7 separate regions of the Homo sapiens genome follow, and regions 1, 2, 3, 4, 5 and 7 are each linked to region 6. The links are contacts of gene promoters, found by promoter capture Hi-C in blood cells and fetal thymus (Javierre and others, 2016). All regions are on one chromosome and are shown on one strand. The core of a region is centred on a gene start or on the middle of the fragment in contact, and the rest is flanking DNA. Distances in the headings are between cores, read along the strand shown. Region 1 has its middle 240 kb from the start of CCDC140. Region 2 overlaps FARSB (phenylalanyl-tRNA synthetase subunit beta). Region 3 overlaps FARSB (phenylalanyl-tRNA synthetase subunit beta). Region 4 overlaps FARSB (phenylalanyl-tRNA synthetase subunit beta). Region 5 overlaps FARSB (phenylalanyl-tRNA synthetase subunit beta). Region 6 holds the start of CT75 (cancer/testis associated transcript 75). Region 7 overlaps LOC124907985 (a long non-coding RNA gene).

What was found. Contacts are between HindIII fragments. The CHiCAGO score rates a contact against its expected background, and 5 or more counts as called.
Region 1: a contact is called between a fragment that was not itself captured here and the fragment with the promoter of CT75 in region 6, in 1 of 17 cell types (M2 macrophages). The highest score is 5.8, in M2 macrophages.
Region 2: a contact is called between a fragment that was not itself captured here and the fragment with the promoter of CT75 in region 6, in 8 of 17 cell types (megakaryocytes, M0 macrophages, M1 macrophages and 5 more). The highest score is 11.7, in megakaryocytes.
Region 3: a fragment that was not itself captured here is called in contact with the fragment with the promoter of CT75 in region 6 in 1 of 17 cell types (M2 macrophages); the score reaches 5.4 in M2 macrophages.
Region 4: a contact is called between a fragment that was not itself captured here and the fragment with the promoter of CT75 in region 6, in 8 of 17 cell types (M1 macrophages, monocytes, erythroblasts and 5 more). The highest score is 8.9, in M1 macrophages.
Region 5: a contact is called between a fragment that was not itself captured here and the fragment with the promoter of CT75 in region 6, in 3 of 17 cell types (M1 macrophages, M0 macrophages and megakaryocytes). The highest score is 7.7, in M1 macrophages.
Region 7: a contact is called between a fragment that was not itself captured here and the fragment with the promoter of CT75 in region 6, in 3 of 17 cell types (monocytes, M1 macrophages and M0 macrophages). The highest score is 6.3, in monocytes.

Annotation. Positions count from the first base shown.
Region 1 is chr2:222,053,382-222,056,188 of GRCh38, reverse strand. No RefSeq gene overlaps it. Among named protein-coding and RNA genes, the nearest start is that of CCDC140, 240 kb to the left of the region's middle. RefSeq lists an enhancer at 2,578-2,807. The HindIII fragment of the contact is 2,456 bases long and covers 182-2,637 here.
Region 2 is chr2:222,621,444-222,624,490 of GRCh38, reverse strand. FARSB (phenylalanyl-tRNA synthetase subunit beta) reads left to right here. Exons shown (of 17, transcript NM_005687.5): 12 at 12-219; 13 at 761-841. Among named protein-coding and RNA genes, the nearest start is that of FARSB, 33 kb to the left of the region's middle. The HindIII fragment of the contact is 476 bases long and covers 1,018-1,493 here.
Region 3 is chr2:222,580,944-222,583,944 of GRCh38, reverse strand. All of the region lies in intron 16 of FARSB (phenylalanyl-tRNA synthetase subunit beta), which reads left to right. Among named protein-coding and RNA genes, the nearest start is that of FARSB, 74 kb to the left of the region's middle. The HindIII fragment of the contact is 5,883 bases long and covers 1-3,001 here.
Region 4 is chr2:222,638,210-222,641,172 of GRCh38, reverse strand. It overlaps FARSB (phenylalanyl-tRNA synthetase subunit beta), which reads left to right. Exons shown (of 17, transcript NM_005687.5): 4 at 242-311; 5 at 1,478-1,593. Among named protein-coding and RNA genes, the nearest start is that of FARSB, 16 kb to the left of the region's middle. RefSeq lists a silencer at 2,779-2,926. The HindIII fragment of the contact is 1,322 bases long and covers 972-2,293 here.
Region 5 is chr2:222,597,594-222,600,420 of GRCh38, reverse strand. FARSB (phenylalanyl-tRNA synthetase subunit beta) reads left to right here. Exons shown (of 17, transcript NM_005687.5): 16 at 338-493. Among named protein-coding and RNA genes, the nearest start is that of FARSB, 57 kb to the left of the region's middle. The HindIII fragment of the contact is 2,494 bases long and covers 28-2,521 here.
Region 6 is chr2:222,317,138-222,319,837 of GRCh38, reverse strand. CT75 (cancer/testis associated transcript 75) reads right to left here and starts at 1,367. Exons shown (of 4, transcript NR_136642.1): 1 at 468-1,367. It overlaps RNF228 (ring finger protein 228), which reads left to right. Exons shown (of 1, transcript NM_001395871.1): 1 at 1-2,700. The coding sequence ends at 810. RefSeq lists a silencer at 453-782 and enhancers at 1,253-1,302, 1,079-1,674. The HindIII fragment of the contact is 3,961 bases long and covers 1-1,611 here.
Region 7 is chr2:222,667,942-222,670,641 of GRCh38, reverse strand. LOC124907985 (a long non-coding RNA gene) reads right to left here. Exons shown (of 2, transcript XR_007088095.1): 2 at 1-6. Among named protein-coding and RNA genes, the nearest start is that of MOGAT1, 2.4 kb to the left of the region's middle. The HindIII fragment of the contact is 273 bases long and covers 1,207-1,479 here.

The DNA.
Region 1 (2,807 bases), core at 160-2,659, 260 kb after region 6:
TCTTTATACTTTTAGGCTAATATTTGTAATAACCTTAAGAGTGTAATAGCATCCCCACTCTCAGAACCTCAGATAGTTTTAAGTGTTCGATTCAAAGTCATATGGATGAAGTGGCTAGAAAGCAAATTAAAGTATTTTGGTAATTGTTTTTCACTCACTGAATCTTAAAAATCCCAAAGCTTTAGGCATTCTCCAACTGTACTTAAAAGATAAGGCTTTTTAGAAGTCAAGAAGGATCCATATCTAGATGTGTAGACAGATCTAGTTTACAAGACTAAGCTAACCTAATTTGAAGGTTAATCTCTCAGATGGGAGGGAGAAAGAATAAACAGAACATTCATACATATGAACTCATCTGATCTTTACAAAACCTGTGAATCATGTTCTTTTTCCCTACAAAAATATTTTAAGTGTATTGTATGTTTTAAACATTTGAGAAAAGAGGAGTGAACAAGATAAACAAAGTCCCTGCCCTCATGGAGTTTAATTTCCAAAGATGATGAGGAGACAGGTAAGAATGTCCATTTGGCTGATAGAGAAACAAGTGTTAAGGGATAAACAACCCACTCCCTTAAGTTCCCTTAAGGGATAAACAACCCACTCCCTTAAGCTATTGCATCGCAGCAGATTCGAACAGAGTTCTTGCTAATGGCACCCCTTTGATAATTCCGCTACACTTTCAGCTGCCTGCTGGGAAAAGTTCAGGCATGCTTTTGACAGTGAAGGCACAGCAGTAAACAGGCTGCTCCTGCCACATTACAAAAGTGAGTATGACTTTCTTATTTTTGTTTGTCTGGGATGCAATCGGATTTTAGTGGAAAGGCATTGAAATTGACATAAAAAAATCTGTGTTAGGTTCTTAACTTTGCCATTTCTGAGCATATCGCTGATTTTCAGTTTTCTCACCCCCACCCTGGTGAGAATTAGAGGCATCTCTTGAGACTTTTGCAAGGATTAAATAAGCCAATGTTTATGAACATCTAGAAAAGAGGTTGGTCCACAGAAGGAAGGCAATAAATCTGTAGAGATGATGACACTGAGTATCTAGTATTATTTACTTGTGGAATTAACCGAAAAGGCATGGTTAATGCCTCATCTCCCCCTTAGGGAAATAGCTCTAGTCCTTGTTTAACTTTATCTTACTCTCTAATATGGGAATGATAGCATCTGCCAAACAGGGTGGTGATTAAGGATTAGCAATAGACCATAGAATGCACCTAGTACAGTTTCCAGCATAGAACCAGCATTCACGAAATTGTAGCAATCACGATTATTACTGTTTATGAGTCTAATAAAGCACACATTCCTAAGAATGTAAACTGTTAGAAATTTGGATTGAGATACTGTTGATGGTTTTATTACAAAGACTGAAATGTCTTATTCAAAAATCCTGAAAAAAAAAAACCATGGAAAAGACTAGAAAAAACACTAGGAAAGAAGTCAAATTTAAGTATGGGTCATTTTTCCTTTGTCAATTGGGAGTTCATAAGATTTTAAATGCCCCTCCAAAAGCATATCATCACATTTCAATATTTTTCTGGCTTTATATATAATTAGAAATCATGTATATTCTATAGCTCATGAGGTACTGGAGATCTCTAGGAGAGAAAGCATGTTTATGGGGACAAGATTCTTCGGCTGCCTTCACAATTATCTGATAAATGTAGGTCTAGCTTCATCCATGTACCTGCAAAGGACATGAACCCATTCTTTTTTATGGCTGCATAGTATTCCATGGTGTGTATGTGCCACATTTTCTTTATCCAGTCTATCACTGATGGGCATTTGGGTTGGTTCCAAGTCTTTGCTATTGTAAACAGTGCTGCAATAAACATACGTATTCTCAGCAAACTAACACAGGAACAGAAAACCAAACACCACATGTTCTGACGCATAAGTGGGAGTGTAACAGGGAGAATTCATGGACACAGGGAGGGGAACATCACACACCAGGGCCTGTCAGAGGTTGGGGCGCAAGAGGAGGGAGAGCATTGGCATAAATACCTAATGCATGTGGGGCTTAAAAGCTAGATGATGGGTTGATAGGTGCAGCAAACCACCATGGCACATGTATGCCTATGTAACAAACCTGCACGTTCTGCACATGTATTCCAGAATTTAAAGTATAATAACACACACACACACCAAATTAAAAAAAAAAGTATTGTCTAAAGGATGAGCAAAATAAATAATTTTTTTTAAAAAATGTGGGTCTAGCTGGCTGTGGTGGCTCATGCCTGTAGTCTCAGCTTCTTGGAGGCTGAGGTGGAAGGATCATTTGAGATCAGGAGTTTGAGACGAGCCTGGGCAACACAGTGAGACCCCTGTCTCAAAATAAAAATAAAAATAAAAACAAATAAATGCAGGTTCAGCAGGACTAAATATTTAAAACTGAGAGTTTGGCATTGCAGGCACAGACTGTTGTTAAAGGAAGTTAAATGGGAAGGGAGTTCTTCATTTCTAAACATTACTTGAGAAACCAGAATTCAATCTAAAATACCTGGCTTCATGTCCTCTTTACAAAGGTACCTATGCATAGGACTGGATCTAGATTTACTTCCGAACTCAAAGCATGTTGCCCTACAAAGGAGTGGGTTGGTGATAATGAACAAATTATGGGCATCATCCTTTCAAGCTTTCTTTTTGGGTGAAGAGTGATTTTCCTCTCCCAAAACACACAGGCATGCACACTTACACACGCACCCCCTTCAGTATGCCATCAGCTGTTCTAATTATGGGGTAATTGGCAAGATAGAAGCTCAACCTTCATTGCATTCTTCAGGGAGAAACAAGGGGCTTCCTCTGCT
Region 2 (3,047 bases), core at 6-2,505, 300 kb before region 6:
TCCTTTTTCAGAGAAACTCCAGAAAATCTTGCCAAACTTCTGACCAGGATGTATTTAAAATCAGAAGTCATAGGTGATGGGAATCAGATTGAGATTGAAATCCCTCCAACCAGAGCTGACATTATCCATGCATGTGATATTGTAGAAGATGCAGCTATTGCTTATGGATATAACAACATTCAGATGACTCTCCCGAAAACTTACACCATAGCTAATCAAGTAAGATTGCACCCTTAAATAAACACTCCTTATTGTTAGAAACTGATTATTTAATGCCAGGAAGGCTTCGAGAAAACAGAACGTAGGAATCAAGCAGTATTTGGACATGCTCTGCAATGAGAGGCATTTGCTGTGGAGAGGATACAAAACAGATGCCCAAATGATTAGAGTAAGTTGAAAACCTGTGATGACTAGTTCTTTGAAGAAAGACAAGTTTTGAGTTTGGAGCCCTTGTTGAATCTCTCAGAGATTCATTTTCTCAACTTGGGCCTGAAGGCAGAAGCTGTGTGTGGGAGAGATGGAAGTGGGGGTGGTTTGTACATCTGTGTAGGAGCAGAGGGGTGGCAGAGCGGTGGGGAGGGAGGAGGTAATATTGATAGGGAAATAGTGGCATTAGCAGTACGTTAGTAAGGGTGAAAAGGTTTTTAATCTTTTAAACATTTTTATTTAAAAAAGTTTTAATGGCATGTTCTGTATAAATCTCCCTTTTAAAAAACAAGAAATAATTGCGGTGAAATCAAGTGGATGCTTTTTTTTTCAGTTTCCTCTTAATAAGCTCACTGAACTTCTCCGACATGACATGGCAGCCGCTGGCTTCACTGAAGCACTTACCTTTGCCCTGGTATGTCTTACATGCTTTTTCTGCCCAGATGATTATTTACTTAGACTCTCTGAATTATTTATTCTATGATGCTTTATAAGAATTTATAAAATCTAGACTGTTAGAACTTCCAGATTCTGGAAGAATAACTTTGTTACTTGAGATTATACAATTCCTGGTAAAGTAATGTTGAAGCTTTTGTTTTTACAGCCACAAAAGAAAATGAAGGCCTAGAAAAAAATACCTCAAATGAGAGATGACAAAGTATTTTATAGTTTCATGTGAGTGTTGAGAGTTCACAATGTATTTCATAACCAAATTTATTAAGTTAGAATATTTGGTCTTAATTTGGTTATGGCTGTGCCCACTAGATGCCGTCCTGGGTAAAGGCTTGTGGACTGTTCCACATTAAATTAATTTCTTTGTCTTTGAACATGTTCACAAACATTTGCTTTGAGTTGAAAAGCTGACATAAAAGGCCTAAATCAGGAAATGACTTTTATTACAAAATCAGAAGGAAATTTCCCTCCCCCACCAGATTGACCATTTGAAAGAATAAAATGTGTATGCAATTTGTAGTTCCGTTTTTCCCTCTTGCTGAGCATTTCTGTGGTGCCTGCAATGTAGTTCTTGAGCATTCAAGTATGTTTAATCTATGAGGGGAAAGGAAGCTTCTTCTTTTTCTCCCCTGCAACTTAGCCCTACCTCTGAAATTCTCAATATTTTAGAGTATTTAAGGGACTCTACTTCTAGTTTGCTTAATAAATATTAAGCATTAAGATTTTTCTGATTCAGGAGTCATTCATTCAACATTTGTTGAGCATTTATTATATGTCAGGCACTGCACCAATGAGGAAGCCTGAGGCTGAGAGAGGATAAGTACGTAGCACATTTTACACGGACAGCAGGAGAACTGCTGTGTTCCAGGCCACCATACCTGCATGATCTCATTATATCATGAGCAGGGTCCTGACCTTTAGCCTCCTAGAACAGTGCTTTTCCATGGTCTCATACCGTGTACACTAGGTCTGTAATGCCATGTCATTCATCTTTGCACATATATATACACACATTTGTAGTTGTGAGCATCCAGGATTTCATATAAAATGAAGTACCAAAAATAACATTGAAAAATATATTTTTATTTTTTAAAACATATGAGTGTCACAGGAATACATCTTATTTTAAAGGACTCATACTTTAACCATGTAGATTAAACCATAACAGTTCTTTTCCCCACTTCGAATCCTCTTTTCCTCCCCAGAAACAACTGCTGTTAAAACTTGGGTATGCATTTTTCCCTGCCCTTTTATATTAGTGGTGCCAGTTTGAAAAAAGTTACTTATTACTTTATCCTTTTTATACTTATACTTTATACTTATTACAATATCCATTGCCAGTTTGATTTTGTGACCTTAGAGCCTCATGTGTCTTCGAAGGAGCACAGAGGCCGAGTCTTGACTAGTGGCTGCTCTGCAGGGAATGTTTACCCTGTGCCAAGGGCTTTGTGTACATGATTCCATTTCTTCTCAGTATACTCCTGTGAAGTGGGCATTCCTGTCTTTCACAGCAGTTAATTTAAGTAACTTGTCCTACGCCATGGCTGTGGATCAGGGATTCCCGCCCATGCCTGTCTGCATCCAAGGCCTGTGACTGAACTGTCACACCAGGGATGTTAGAAACAGTCTGTTTAGCTGTCCAAAGTCACTTTAATACATTCAATGTTTATCACTGGGGGGAAGAGAAAGGAGTGAGCTCCTAGAGGGTTTCAGATTTGTACTAAATTTTCCTGTAGGAATTTCAACATTAAAGATGTTTATAAAGATGTTTATAGGCAAGCCTAAGCATCGCTGAGCAAAGATGGTCTATGTTGTTAAATCCAGTTTTGCACAAGAGTAACAGCCATTTTTTTAAGCCTAGTCTCTGACTTTCTAAGTGTAAATAATTCACACTTCATCATATTGATTTTTGCTATATCTGCATAGTAGTTGTAATATTTTCTTTTAAATTGGCTCACTTTTAAGTTGGCTTATGTACTTCAGCCTTGTTATAGGAATAATATCTGTAAAAACTATAAGGTTCATTTACTTGTTGTATTTTTCTAACACATTAAAATAAACACATAAATATTAACATTAAAAAAGTTCCTGGCAGGCATGGTGGCTCATGCCTGTAATCCCAGCACTTTGGGAGGCCGAGGCGGGCGGATCACTTGAGGCTACAAGTT
Region 3 (3,001 bases), core at 498-2,997, 260 kb before region 6:
CACAGTTCTGCATGGCTTGGGAGGCCTCAGGAAACTTAAAATCATGGTGAAAGGCATTTCATCACAGGGCGGCAGGAAAGTGAGTAAAGGGGGTGAGAGTGAGTAAAGGGGGAAATGCCTCTTAAAAAACCATCAGATCTTGTGAGAACTCCCTTAATATCACAAGAACAGCATGGGGATAACTGCCTCTATGTCTCAATTACCTCCCACCCAGACCCTCCCATGGGGATTATGGGAACTACATTTCAAGATGAGATTTGGGTAGGGACACAGCCAAACCATATCAATAGCAAAGAGTCACTTGTTTTCTTCAGCCATCATGTCTCATTAGTCTCCTGGTGACTTCTAGAATAGTCTTTTCTTCACTTTCATGACCTTGACACTTGAAGATTACAGGCCAGTTATTTTGTAGCATGTTCCTCAATTTTGGTTTGTCTGATGTTTCTTCACTAATTAAATTCCTGTTAGGCATCTTTGGAGGAATGGTAGAGAAGTAATGCTAACTTCCCAATGCATGCTATGAAGTGGCACGCAATTTTCATTTATCCAATAACTGATAATGTTCACTGTAATCACTTAATTAAGGTTGTAGCTACCAGTCATCTGTACTGTAAAGTTATTCTTTTCTCCATTATAATTAATAAATGTCTTGTGGGGGAAGAGCTTTGAAATTATGTAAATATACTGTTTCTAATCAGTTTTCCTATATACTTAGTTATGTCAGTATGGACTCATTGCTGCTGATTTTAGTCAGTGTATTTAGATCCATTACAGTCATTTATTTTGATGCTCAAATTGTCCCCAGTTTGGCCAGCAGGAGTCCCTTGAAGCTGGCTTCAGTTTGCTTTTAACATGTTCCCCTCCCTGTGTCCATGTGTTCTTGTTGTTCAACTCCCTCTTATGAGTGAGAACATGCAGTGTTTGGTTTTCTGTTCCTGTGTTAGTTTATCTCTTTTTCTTTAGTGAGAATCTTGGTTCCTAGTGAATTTACATTATTGCTCTTTTTTTTTTTTTCTTTTGGAGACATAGTCTTGCTCTGTCTGCCAGGCTGGAGTGCAGTGGCGTGATCTCGGCTCACTGCAACCTCTGCCTCCTGAGTTCAAGCAATTCTCCTGCCTCAGCCTCCCGAGTAGCTGGGATTACAGGTGCCTGCCACCACACCCGACTAATTTTTTGTATTTTTAGTAGAGATGGGGTTTCGTCATGTTGGCCAGGCTGGTCTTGACTCCTGACCTCAAGTGATCTGCCTTCCTCGGCCTCCCAAAGTGCTGGGGTTACAGGCGTGAGCCACTGCGCCCGAATTTACATTATTGCTTGTTTGCTCATTCTGTTTATCTATTTATCTATCATAGTTTCAAAATAAAAATACTATTATCAACAATATGATTATTGAAAGCAGCTTAAAATTTATCCTTATTACTTTTTGTACTTAGAATATAGGCTATAAATAAGGGACGTAGAGAGAACTCTGGCTTCCACACCGTTCCCTCCCTGCCTCTATAGGTTATGATTTTTATTAGTTTTCAGTTTATCCTTCTGATGTATGTGTGCACACACCTGTGTGTGTGTGTTCATATTCTCTTCTACTCTTTCAGCTGAGGGGCTGATACTTTACACACTGTTCTGTACCTTTCTTTGTTTTACCTGACAGCCTACATTGGAGATGATTCTGTAGCAGCATATAGAGATCTTCCTCCTTTCTTTTGACTTCTCTGGGGTACTTCATTTTATGGAGTTCCACAGTGTAATCAACTAATTTCCTGTTGATTAACATTGAGTTGTTTCCAATCTTTTGCTATTACAGATTGTGTTACAGAGAATAGTCTTGTGCATATGTTATTTGGTAATGCCACTGTATCTCTGGGACAGATTCCTAGAAGTATGGGATCACTGGGACAAAGTAAATAAATTCATATTTTCACTAGACACTGCCAAACACCCCTCCATAGGATTTCTAGTTCCAACGTTGTACAAACGCTGCAGCAACACTTGAGAGGACTTATTTCTCCACAGCCATGGTCACCAGACTTCTTGTCTTTGCCAGTCTTTCAGATGGGAAATGGTGTCTCACTGTAGTTTTAATTGAATTTCCCTTGCCGTGAGCAAATGTAACATATTTACATGTTTACAAGGACATTTTTATTTCCTTTTCTGTGATCCACCTGTCTTCTTCCTTATTTCTTTAGGTTTGTCAATCTTCTCTAGTTTTAGGAACCTTCTATGTAGTGTGGCTGTCAACCCTTCGTGATATACATATGCTGTTTTTTCAGTTTGTCAACTGTCTTTTGACTCCAACTGCTCAGAAGCTAATAGCATATCTATTATGGTTTATCTAGGAAATTAGAAAATTGTTGAAAAACCACTTTTTTGACATTTCCTGTATTTATTTCTAACAAGCAAGATTCTAGAAACCTTTAATAACTAAATGCTTGCTCTGATTTTTAAAAATATGTTAATCCATAGTCTGCTTTGTTTAAAAATTGGAAATGTTTCTTTTACTATGGACTTTTGGGGCAGTGGGGATGCAGAAACATAACAGAACATCCATTAGAGATCTGTCTTCTCCAGTTTCATTCATCTGTCAGCACATTTCTTCTCTCCCATATTATTCCTTTTTTGAGAGACTCCTTTCTGCTTTTTAGCTTAAATTACTCTTCTATATATATATTACATCATTGCAGAAATCCAACAGATTGACATTCATTTAAAGTATTCCCAATACCTTCATAAAAATGACAGGAGGCCCGTTAACTTTACTGAAGTCTCAGTTGTGGTTTTTACTTTGACCAATTATTTTGTTTTACACTGGGGTTGAATAGCTGTGGCCTAACCTTGGGCTTTTTGAGAAATGAATGCTGTCATTCATTTGGGTGACTTGGGCAACCTTGGAAATACATCTGAGCACCTGTTGGCTCATGTGGGCTGTGGGTCAGGAATGTGATCTTCTTGCTGAGGGTCTTATGAGGCCAAGTAAAATGTCTCAAGACCCCCTGGCCCTTCC
Region 4 (2,963 bases), core at 383-2,882, 320 kb before region 6:
TGATAGGAAATACATTACTATGAGGCATCTTATGTCATTTTTGGACAACTTTAAATGTTAAAAAGTTTGTTAGTTTTTTTTTTTGTTTTTTTTTTTTAGTGTTCAGCCAAAATTTGACTTGCTGTAACTCAACCCATTGCCCTAATTCATTTTGTATACTTCCTATATACAGCATAGAATGTAATTATTTTATATAATGTCTTGATTAATTATGAGTAAATTCATTTAAATATTATTTTAGGATAAAGGCTCCAGTGTATAAACGGGTAATGCCTGATGGAAAAATCCAGAAATTGATTATCACAGAAGAGGTAATAAGGACAAATTCTTATTTTTCTTTTAAAAATTTTCTTTTGTACATGTCTGTATAAAGTGGGGAGGAAAGAGAAACAAAGCTTACTCTTTTTTTTTTGTTTTGAGACAGGGTCTGGCTCTTTTGCCCAGACTGGAATGCAGTGGTGCAGTCTTGGCTCACTGCAACCTCTGCTTCCCAGGCTCAAGTGATCCTCCCACCTCAGCCTCCTGAGTATTTGGGAGTACAGGCACACGCCACCACACCCGGCTAGTTTTTTGTATTTTTTAGAAATGGGGTTTCACCATGTTGCCCAGGCTGGTCTCATTCCTGAGCTCAAAGGATACTTCCCCTGCAGCTTCTTGAGTATTTGGGAGTACAGACACACGCCACCACACCTGGCTAATTTTTTGTATTTTTTAGAAATGGGTTTTCACCATGTTGCCCAGGCTAGTCTCAAATTCCTGAGCTCAAAGGATCCTTCCCCTGCAGCTTCTTGAGTATTTGGGAGTACAGGCACACGCCACCACACCCAGCTAATTTTTTGTATTGTTTAGAAATGGGGTTTCACTATGTTGCCCAGGCTGCTCTCAAATTCCTGAGCTCAAAGGATCCTTCCCCTACAGCCTCCTAAAGTGCTGGGATTATAGCTGTGAGCCTCTGTGCCTGGTCCAAAGCTTACCCTTCTAAAAAATGTGATTTTCTTTGATCATTTGCTAAAATGATTATATACTTAGCCCCTAGCCCTTAAAAAAACATTTTTTTTTAACCTAGGAATGAAAAAGAACAAAGCCTTTGCTTTCCATAAATAATTTTGGATAATAATATCCAATGCATGTTTAAAACACATTTGAGATATAATTGTTTAAATTGTGGAACATTAATGAAATTTTAAAAGATTTTAAACTTTTCAGAGGGGTTGTTTGGTAAATATATGAATTATGAGCAAACTTTTTCTCAATTATTTAATACATTTTCAGAAATCTTACTGAAATATAAATTCTGTGAAGGTAGTGACTTTTTCTCTTGTTTACCACTTTATTACTTGTTGACTGAATAAATTAATATATACTTGTTTGAATGAAAATGTATGCCAGTGGCAAGAATGCAGCTACCTTCCTATTACAAGATATTACAAAGAAAAGCCTTACTGTTTGCTATCTCTAATGATATTATGAATTTCAGACAGCTAAGATACGTCCTTTTGCGGTAGCAGCAGTTCTCCGTAATATAAAGTTTACTAAAGATCGATATGACAGCTTCATTGAACTTCAGGAGAAATTACATCAGAATATTTGCAGGTTTGTGGTTGCATTTTCTTTCTTCCTTGCCTTCCCCTTTCCCTTTGTCTCCCTATCTCCTTTCCATCCTGATCCCTCTCCCTCTTCTCTCTTGCCACTTCTGCCTTCTTTCTCTCTCTCTCCTTCCTTTCTTCCTCTGCAGATTTTTTACAAATCATTTCTAAATTAATAGTATGTGACAGAATATGAGAATTTCACTTTGCTTTACCAGATACCTTTTACTGCTTGTAAATGCCATATGCATGGAGAAACAGGAGGTATATTTTGAATACTGTATAGAGAAGAATTATCTAGTCCTAGAGACTTCCCTGCTTTTTGTTGTTGTTGTTTTGGTTCAGATCAGTCGTGGATTATGCTACTAAGTATAAACCGTGTTAATGAAGTATGATATATCATTTTTAAAATGGAAATAACATTTTGGCTTATTCTCACTTTTTGAGTGAGAGTAATTATAAATTGACAGAACTTGAGTTTAAATGACTAAATTTTACTTATTCAGTCTTTACATTACTATGCATAATTTCCTGCACAGCTCCTTTAGGGCAATAATCTTCACACCTGTATAATTTCTGAACTCTTAAAGGTCAGTGAAGGTAACAACGGGAATCCTTGAACAAATTTAAGTATTTCAAAATCCTAATGGAAACTGTATACTTACTGATGATGAGAAACCTCAGACTTTAGCCTAACATATTAAGCTTATTTGTGTTGGTTCTGAAATAGATCAGCATAAGTTACTGCATGTTGATCCAAAGGTATGATTGATAGTTATATATGTCTCAAATAAAAATAGAAAAAGAATTTTTATTTATTTTTTTGTGTGAGATCTGCTGCAGCTATTTGCTAATAATTGTAGTTTAGTAAACTGTAGAGCCTAGGAGGGGTTTATGTGTATGGGATGGGCTAGGGACAGGATAGAGGGAGAACCGTAGACATTTTCTGCTGTGGTGAAAAACATCTTTGTCCATGTGGTAGTAGCAACATTTTTTTCAGATTCCAAATAGCATTTATTCCCAGTCCTTGTATATAAAAGAGTTTATATGTCAGCTTGCTAATATGTCATTATTAAGCAAAACAATAACAATTTAAATATAATTTCAAAATTAAGAACAAAATACAAGATTTCTGACAAGTATAGGTATAACTTAAGTGGTTGAGCCAGATTATCTGCTCTGGCTCTATTATCTGTTTATTTTAAGAAGTTATTTTAATCTAAACAGACATTTTCTTACTTAATTTAACTTTAAGCTCTGTTTTATTTGGTATTTCTGGAAATCATGAGCTTTTTCTAAGGGGAAGAATTGAACACATCCTAATACTTTGGTGTGCCAGAGTTCTTTTCTGTCAGTAAATCCTAATTAACCTCTTTA
Region 5 (2,827 bases), core at 25-2,524, 280 kb before region 6:
ATATTATGAATAAGAGAGTATGAAGCTTTAAGGCTCTGATATATTGGTAAATTGTTTACAAAGAATTTTACCAACTTATACCTCAGTGAAGCCTTATTTTCCCTGGTCAGCATTGAGGGTTTTTCACTCTTTCCCCCAAATAAAACACCTTAGGGAATTTGATGAGCTGAAAAAAGACTATTTTATCTTATTTTGCATTTGTGAGGTTGAATCCTTCTCTGAATGTTTAATATTTGGTTTTCTTTTTTGTTGACTTTTTCTAAGTTTGTACTGGGGTAAATCAGTTTCTTAAGCAATGGTTAATACAGCGTTGTGACCAGTTCCTTTATTTTTCTAGATGTAGGTGCAAAAAACTACAGACATCTCTGTGCTGTTTATTACAACAAGAATCCTGGGTTTGAGATCATTCATGGGCTGCTGGACAGAATTATGCAGTTGCTCGATGTGCCTCCTGGTGAAGACAAGGGGGGATATGTGATCAAAGCATCAGAAGGTAAGACAGATGAGCCGAATCCAGAGTTAGTGACAGTGTCAGGAAGAGGCTACACCTTGTTTTTGATGAAGTTGGTAGTTTTGATTTGGGATTTTAGAAAGAAAGGGAGAGTTTTATTTCAATTAATTGTCAATATTATCCAGAAAATATCCCCTTTCCCTCCAGCATTTTAAGAAAACACTTTTCAGAACTCTCGTAAGTGCTGCACAGTATACTTTCGTTCCAACTGAGCTGTAACCCCTAGTTACTGGCACCTTTAAGCCATCAAAATGGCTAAATCACTGGCACCTTTAAGCCATCAGCACATGGTGAACCCAGAAGTTTTAACTGGAAGCTGGTAAGACCTAAAGTGATGGTTTGCACTCAAAAGCTGCCTGTCTGATGGCTTTAAGACAAAAGAAAAAAGAAAACAAAAACAAAAACCTCAGAAGTTATTCTGAAAGATTTCACACATGTTAATCAAGTCATAAAGTTTGCAGAGCAAGGGTGGGAATCCTCGTGTATAAAATCCCAAGTACAGTAAAATCTTTGTTGGAGAGTTTAAGCTAGGCTAACTAAATGGTATATATGTGCTCCTAATATTCTATTAATAGTTTCTCATTATCCAAGGAACTCTGAAATTTTTGCTTTTCATATTTCTGCAGCTTCAATCTAAATTTATTTTGTTAGATGAAAGGTCCAGAAACAACTTGAGAGAAATATTTCACCACTTATTCCTACCGTTTACCTCACTGTGCTTTATAACTCTATTTGGCATCTTAAATTTCTAACAGAACATTTACTTTTAAAGTGTTATTTAACAGTTAGTAATGAGATTTGGTGGGGTAATATGTTTTTTTCTTTTATTTATTAGTCCTCAGGGATTGTTTTTGTTGGTGGTTGTTTAATTTTTGTTTTTGTTTTCATTTTGAGACTCCTTTGAAAATAACCCTGAAATCTATGGGTTTTTTTAGATTGAAGATGTGTGTGGTTCTTTTTTTTTTTTTAAATAAATGAGAGATTAAATAAGCAGGAAGTTGTTTCTTACCCACTTTCCATGAGAAATAATAAAATGCAGACATTGTTATGCTTGTGGAGTTCTAGATGTTAGAACTGGATTTTGGAGTTCATCCAGCCCACGAGCCCGGTTTTATGAGTGAGGGAACTGGGGTTAGGCAAGTTAAAGAAGCCGGAGCCGGGTCATGCATGTTGACCCCACAGCTTCTGCCTCCCAGTATCCTTGCCAGTGTTGTCTGCCTTTTTAGTGCCTGTATATACTCATTCACCAGTTTACCATCCTAGAATTTTGCTTTAAGACCAGGTCATCCAGGCTTATGGCAACCTGTAAGCTGATGTGAAGCATTTCTTTTCCTTCCATGCACAATCTTCTCAGAAATCTTATTTCTTAAACAGTTTAGCTAGATAAAAATTTGATGCAGATTGCGTCCTGAACGTGAGGTCCAATTTCTTTCATACTTGAAAGGTTGCAAAGAGCTGAAATGGTAAATGAGAGCATAGCTTGTGGTGGATGTGATGCTTTGTGTAACCTTTAGATGGATAATATTTCTGTAAACTGGTATCTTAATATTGTGACTTCTCCTGCTTCAATCAGTTCCTTAGATATTTATTTATCAGAAGAGTGTGAGTTCCTAGTTATAAGGCAGACTTCAGAAAAGACAATGATAAGTAGGACACAGGTGCTGCTGTCAAGCAACCAGCCAGGGAAAAGACCACCACATACCGACCCTCAAACCAAGATGTTAAAATGATTGTCTTGATGTTTCCGAAGAGGAAGAAAGTGCAACTTCTTCAGGGCATCCAGAAAAACAATAGGGAGTTTCTGCAAAGTGAGATGGGCCTTTGGAAGAATAGGTGGAGACAGGGGAAGCAAGGCAAACTAATGATAGGAAACACAGGCTGTATGTTTGGAAACACAGCAGACAGTGTAGTGTGGTTTGGCTATAGGGTGAGGAAGGAGCTTGAAACTATATTTGGAGTCTTGAATGCTAGGGAAAGGCTGCAGCTAGTTAGGAGAAAAGCATTAAAGCTTCTTTTTTTTCTTCTTTTAAAGCAGGTAGGTGATATTAGATCTGTACTTTAAAAGGATTAATTTAGCAGCAATATGTAGGTTGGGTGGGATGGAGAGCAGAGGTGAAGAGAATGGTGGGAAGGGATTTTAGCACATTGTAGAGGAGTGATAATGAGGACTTGGCCTGGATCGTGCTCATAGGATCCAAGGAAAGGACTGATTTAAGAAACCTTAAGAAGATAGAAGCCACAGCATTCATCATTTGGAAAATTTTGTGATAGTGCCACTTGGAACTTTTTGTGATACAGCTAATTTGTGTTGATCTT
Region 6 (2,700 bases), core at 118-2,617:
TGCTTGCACACCTTCTGCCAGGAGTGCCTGAGCCAGCTGCAGCTCCGCGCCGCCGCCGCCGCCGCCGCTGCCGCCGCGCCTGAGCGCCCGCCGCGCCCGCCGCCCTGGCTCTGCCCGCCCGGCGCCATCGCGTGCCCGGTGTGCCGCCACCGCACGCCGCTGCCCGACAGCCGCGTGCACGGCCTGCCCAACAACACCAAGCTAGCCGAGGCCTTCCCGCTGGCTTTGCGCGCAGCGCACGACCCGCTGCCCCAGGACCGCCTCCCGCCGCTGCCCGCGCGCCTGCCCGCGCCCGCTGCTGCCCCGCCGCCCACCCCGGCCCCGCCACCGCCGCCCTCCCCCGCCCCACCGCAGCCGCCGCCGCCGCCGCCTGCCGAGGACGCGGCCCCCGGGCCTCGAGCCCGCCCCGGCCTGCGCGCCCCGGGCGCCTACGACAGCTGCCAGAACTGCAAGCGCGCGGCGCTCACCGCTGGCTGCGTGTGCGTGGTCTTCTCCTTCCTCTCCATGGTGGTGCTGCTCTTCACCGGCCTCATCTTCGTCAACCACTACGGCGGCGGGGGAACCCCCGGAGGCGGGGCGCCCCCTGGCGAGGCACCGGCCACCGGGTCGCCCTCGCCCTCGCCCGTGGGGCCCATCTGCCTGTCGGTGGCCAGCATCCTGGCACTCTTCTCGGTCGTTGTCACCTGGGTCATCTGCTGGCTCAAGTATCGGCCCGAGGGTGCGGCCGCGGGCTCGACGGGGGGCAGCGGCGGCGGCGGCGGCCCGAGGGCACGGGCTGCGGCGGGCGGCGCGCGGAGGAGCGACACATAGCCGGGCCACGCCGCGGAACCGGCGCCTGCACCTCCAGCCCCGCGTGGCGGGAGAAGAGGGGGCCTCTGGCTCGGTGCGCTCGAGCTTCTGCACCCTCTCCCTGCTGCCCCCGGGCTCTCCTGGACTCACACTCTCTCCCAACTCGGCCACTGAGGAGCCTCGGTTTTCTGTCCCTCGGGCTTCTGTCGCCCCTCGCCCTTCGCGCTGGGCCAGAGAGGGAAACTGAACAGGAAGGGATGTTGGTGGGGGGGGGGGGTCTCTTTTGCCTGGACTGTGCAAAATTGACCTCCGCGTTATGCACCACCCTCGTCCTCGTCAGAATGTGCGGCCATCCCTCCCTAGAGCACAAAGATCTGCAGAGACGAAGCAAGGGGAGGGGGAGCCCCACCGCCCCGCCTGAAAGCTGGTTTTCTGGCCGCCAGGACTTGAGAGTTTCTTTAAAGGTGCAGCTGCGCGCGTGCACACGTGCATCTGTGGCGGCTGTGAATGGACTTGAATTGCCCGGAGGAAGAATGAATGGGATGTAAACGTGAGAGGAAAAGGATTTCCTGCTTCCTAGCGGTCCTGGAAAGGGAGAGATCCTGAGCGCTGAGAGTGACGGACACTCCCCGCCGGCACAGCGCGGGCGTGCCCGGAGCTCAGGCAGCAGCTGGGCGCGATGGGGCAGGTGCACGGCGCGCGTGCGCGATCGGAGCCGACTCGGAGTGGCCGAGGCTGCGGCGCGCCCAGGGCGGTGGGCCCTGTTGCCCATGGCCGGGTGTTGTCTGGAGCAGAGCCTAGAAGTCTCATCTCCTGGAAGCTTGTGGTTGTTTTATTCACGGTGTTACTGCCAGGAAGTCTTCTGTAACTAGACTCAGGGAGCTTAAAGAGCCTGTTCTCCCTTCTCTCAAAAGTGGCTTACGGTTGCCCCCACCTGGAAGATATTGAAAGCTATTCACACAGAATATAAACTAGATTTTCTCCTTCCCCTCGCCTTTTTTTCTTAATTTCATTTAACATATAATTTATTTTTGAATATATAAATCTGGAAATTTTTGTGCATTAAGATTTCCAGAAAATTGTTTGATAAGCAGTGACATTATTCCCATACCTCGAGTCCAAATACATTTCGAAATTAGGAGCAGAAAATAAAAGCCTGTTGGTAATTGATTCAATATTTTATACTGTGAAATAACTAATGACTTTTAATTATCTGATAAAATATAAACTAGTGCCCAAACATGAAATCAACTAACTGAAGGTCTTTCTGCCTTTGGCTACAAAAGATATATATCGTATACACTTATTAGAAAGTATTATATGATTTTGAATTTAGCTGTTTGATATTGTTGGAATTACTGAAATGTTCACATACAGTCACATGAGATGAAAAAGAATATATATCTATCTGATTTTGTAACTACAAAGATGAATTGCCAGTATATGTTGCAAGTGGGTTAGATGCCTTTTTTTTTAAGAAGGAAAACTGTTCCAAATGTATTTTATATGAAAACATTCTTTATTCCATCTTTTGAAATTTGGAATAAGACAAAGTTTTCATGCTTAAAAATCACAGAATCTACTGAAGGTATGCTATTATTCCTCGAGTATTTATGCAAGCTGTCTGCATGATATCCTGACACTATTCTATTAATTGAACTTGAATCGAGCATTTGTATCTATCATAGGAGTGAAGTAATTTATTGGCCATTGATAAGTGGTTTGGCTGCAATGTAGAAACTACAGTATGAAGTGTTTTATGTCTGCATTGTCTTAATAATAAAAACAAGAGGTATTTATAGAAATATCTATTTTCATGACATTAATTTCATGGTAAAATTGCTCCATTATTTGTGTGGCACTTCTCTTCCTTAAATACATGTCCCCTTCTAAATCCAAATTTCACATTTT
Region 7 (2,700 bases), core at 94-2,593, 350 kb before region 6:
GGCCACCTGGATGTGTACATGCAGGTCACAGAGGTTATAATGGCTGAGCTTTGGCTCAGAGGCCTGACACAAGCTATTCATTGTCTTGTTCTCAGAGTACAGGGGGAAACAGACATAAGCAAAACAACTACACAATTTGGTGTATAATTACAAGTAAGACCCTACTGTGAATGACTAGAAGATTCCAAAACCAAGACTGCTGCACGGTCAGGGAAGTGTCTGAAGAAGTGCCCTTACTTGAGCTGTAGCCAAATCTAGTTAACCCAGGAGTCATCCGGGCAAAGGGAAGCACATATGCAAAGGTCCTGTGGCTGAACTCCAAGAAGAGCTCAAAGAGTGAGAGCTTGGGGGACAAGGGTGAGATTGGGGTGACATCAGGCAAAAATGGTGGGCAAGGTCCAGACCCTTGCAGACTGAGTTAGGGTTCAAGTTTGAACCCCAAGAGCAGTACAAGACACTGAAGGGTTTCAATTACGATGTGCTAAATGGATGGCTAGATTCTAAATAGTGCCTAGTCCTTGGGAGCAACCACTGCACTTTATTTATAAATATTAATTACCACATAGTTGAAAAACTCAAAATGATGAGCAGCTGTCAAGTCATTGCTGAAGAGGACTTGGAACAGGGCAAAACAATATAGTTGGCCCTCCTTTCTCCCCCATCCTATGCCCTTTTCTCCTTCAACATTTTAATACAAAGGGAGTTGGATTAAAACAAATACCAGGGCCACTTGGAGGAGTTGTTTGTGATTTTTTGTATGCAAAACTTGTTTGGGTTTCTTTTTCCTCCTACTTAAGGAGTCACTTTCTTCTTTCCTTTTAGATTTCTTCCTTGAATCTTCCCCCAGTGCTAGGTGGGGACACTACGAACACACCCTATGTCAGGCACTCTGCAGAGACCTCACAGGCGTAATCTCAAAAACCCTACAAAGTACGCATTCACTTCAACTTTGCAGCTGAGGAAATTAGGGCTTAAAGTCACACAGCTGGTAAATGGCAGAATAGAGAAGATTCAAATTTCTATAAAACCTGGAGAGGCGAGTCATCCCTTCATCAACTGAACCAAACATAGAACAAACATTTATGGAGTGCCTGCATTGCCTTGGGCATTGTCCTTGGTACTGATGACACAAACGTGAATTAAGATGAGGTCTCTGTGCCTTTGAGAATTTACACACATTTACTTATTGACTATTTGTGGAAAGCTTTCTATGTATTAGGCACTGGGTAGGGAAAGGAGATGAGTTACAATGGTGAATAAGAAAAGTCTTTGTCCTGCTGCAGCTCACAGTCTAGTGGGAGAAACAGAAAATACCTACCTATGTAGACAACCAAATGTGTGACAGTGCCCTGAAGGAAACACATAGGCTGATACAGAATAATGGGCACCTATTTAGAACAGATTGGAGGTAGCAAGAGTGGAAGTAGGCATATCCCCTAAGAAGGCTATTGTAGGATGATTGTAGAGGATGTGGAAGCTTGGGAAAATATAGACTTGAGATATGCATGGGACATATAAATGGTAGGACTCTTTGATTCATTGGATTTCGAATCTGTCGGTAAAGAAGAGCAAAACACCGAGAACTCCTGATCCTGATCACTTGGAGTTTGCTTGCTTAGTAATGTATTTGTTACTTTCCCAGAACACTAAGCTGATAGATAAGAACTGTCATATCCTGTCACAGCCATCACAGCCAACTGAAACAAAGCATGGACTCACCAGCACTCAGTCAATGCAACAGTCCATCACCATTTTAATCAACAATTAAATTATTTGCTCATCCTTTTGACATTCAACATGTATTTATTTGTTTACATATTGTGTGCCAAGTTACTTGAGTTAAGTGATCACTGGATTTACATAGTGGGAAAGTTTTAATTCATCAAGCTATTCAAAACAATTCTAAATGAACCTAAGATTCCAGAGCCTAACTGCTATACTAGGCTGTTTCTCAAATAATATAAGGAAGAAAGGGAGTGTTGTCACAACAGAGGAACAAGTCATTGAAGGGTAAGTAGAAGAGTGCTGATGACTGAACCTGTCATTTGGGTTGAGGTGTAGTTATCCATTCAGTCAACAAATATTTTAGCAAATGATTAAAGAAAAATACATTTGGCAGAAGTGTCAGCTTTGTTCCTATGGGCCTGGAATTGGCTAAATATGAGTGAATAATACATATATATGTTTACAATAATTCAATGAAAATGTACCAAGCACCACAGCTGTGGCAAGTCCTGGGGAAGGAACCAACACAGTCCCTTTGAAGATCTGGGATTCCACTGATGGGTATGGTTCCTCTTTCTACTTCTCAACTCTGATGAAGAAATAAGGTCACAGGCCAGATTGTCTCAACAATTATGAAAGGCTACTCTTGGAATTGAGAAATAAGAAATCATTTCCTTGTTCTAATTATTTCTTCCTGTGCACTTTACTATAACTAACATCTACTAGTAGAAAGGTGACAATGTCTTTCTATAACATGACGTTTTACTGTAACTTAAGTAAAAATGTTCTCATTGTTAGGTTAAAAAGGAAATAGTATTCTGTTAGTATTCTGTCTAGACAGAGTCCTTACAGGGGATAGTTTAGGGCAAAGGTCATGGTTCTGATTTTCATAAGATGCATTAATCATAAAAGTAAGTATTCTCTCTCTCTCTCACGCGTGCGCGCACAGACACACACACACACACACACACACAC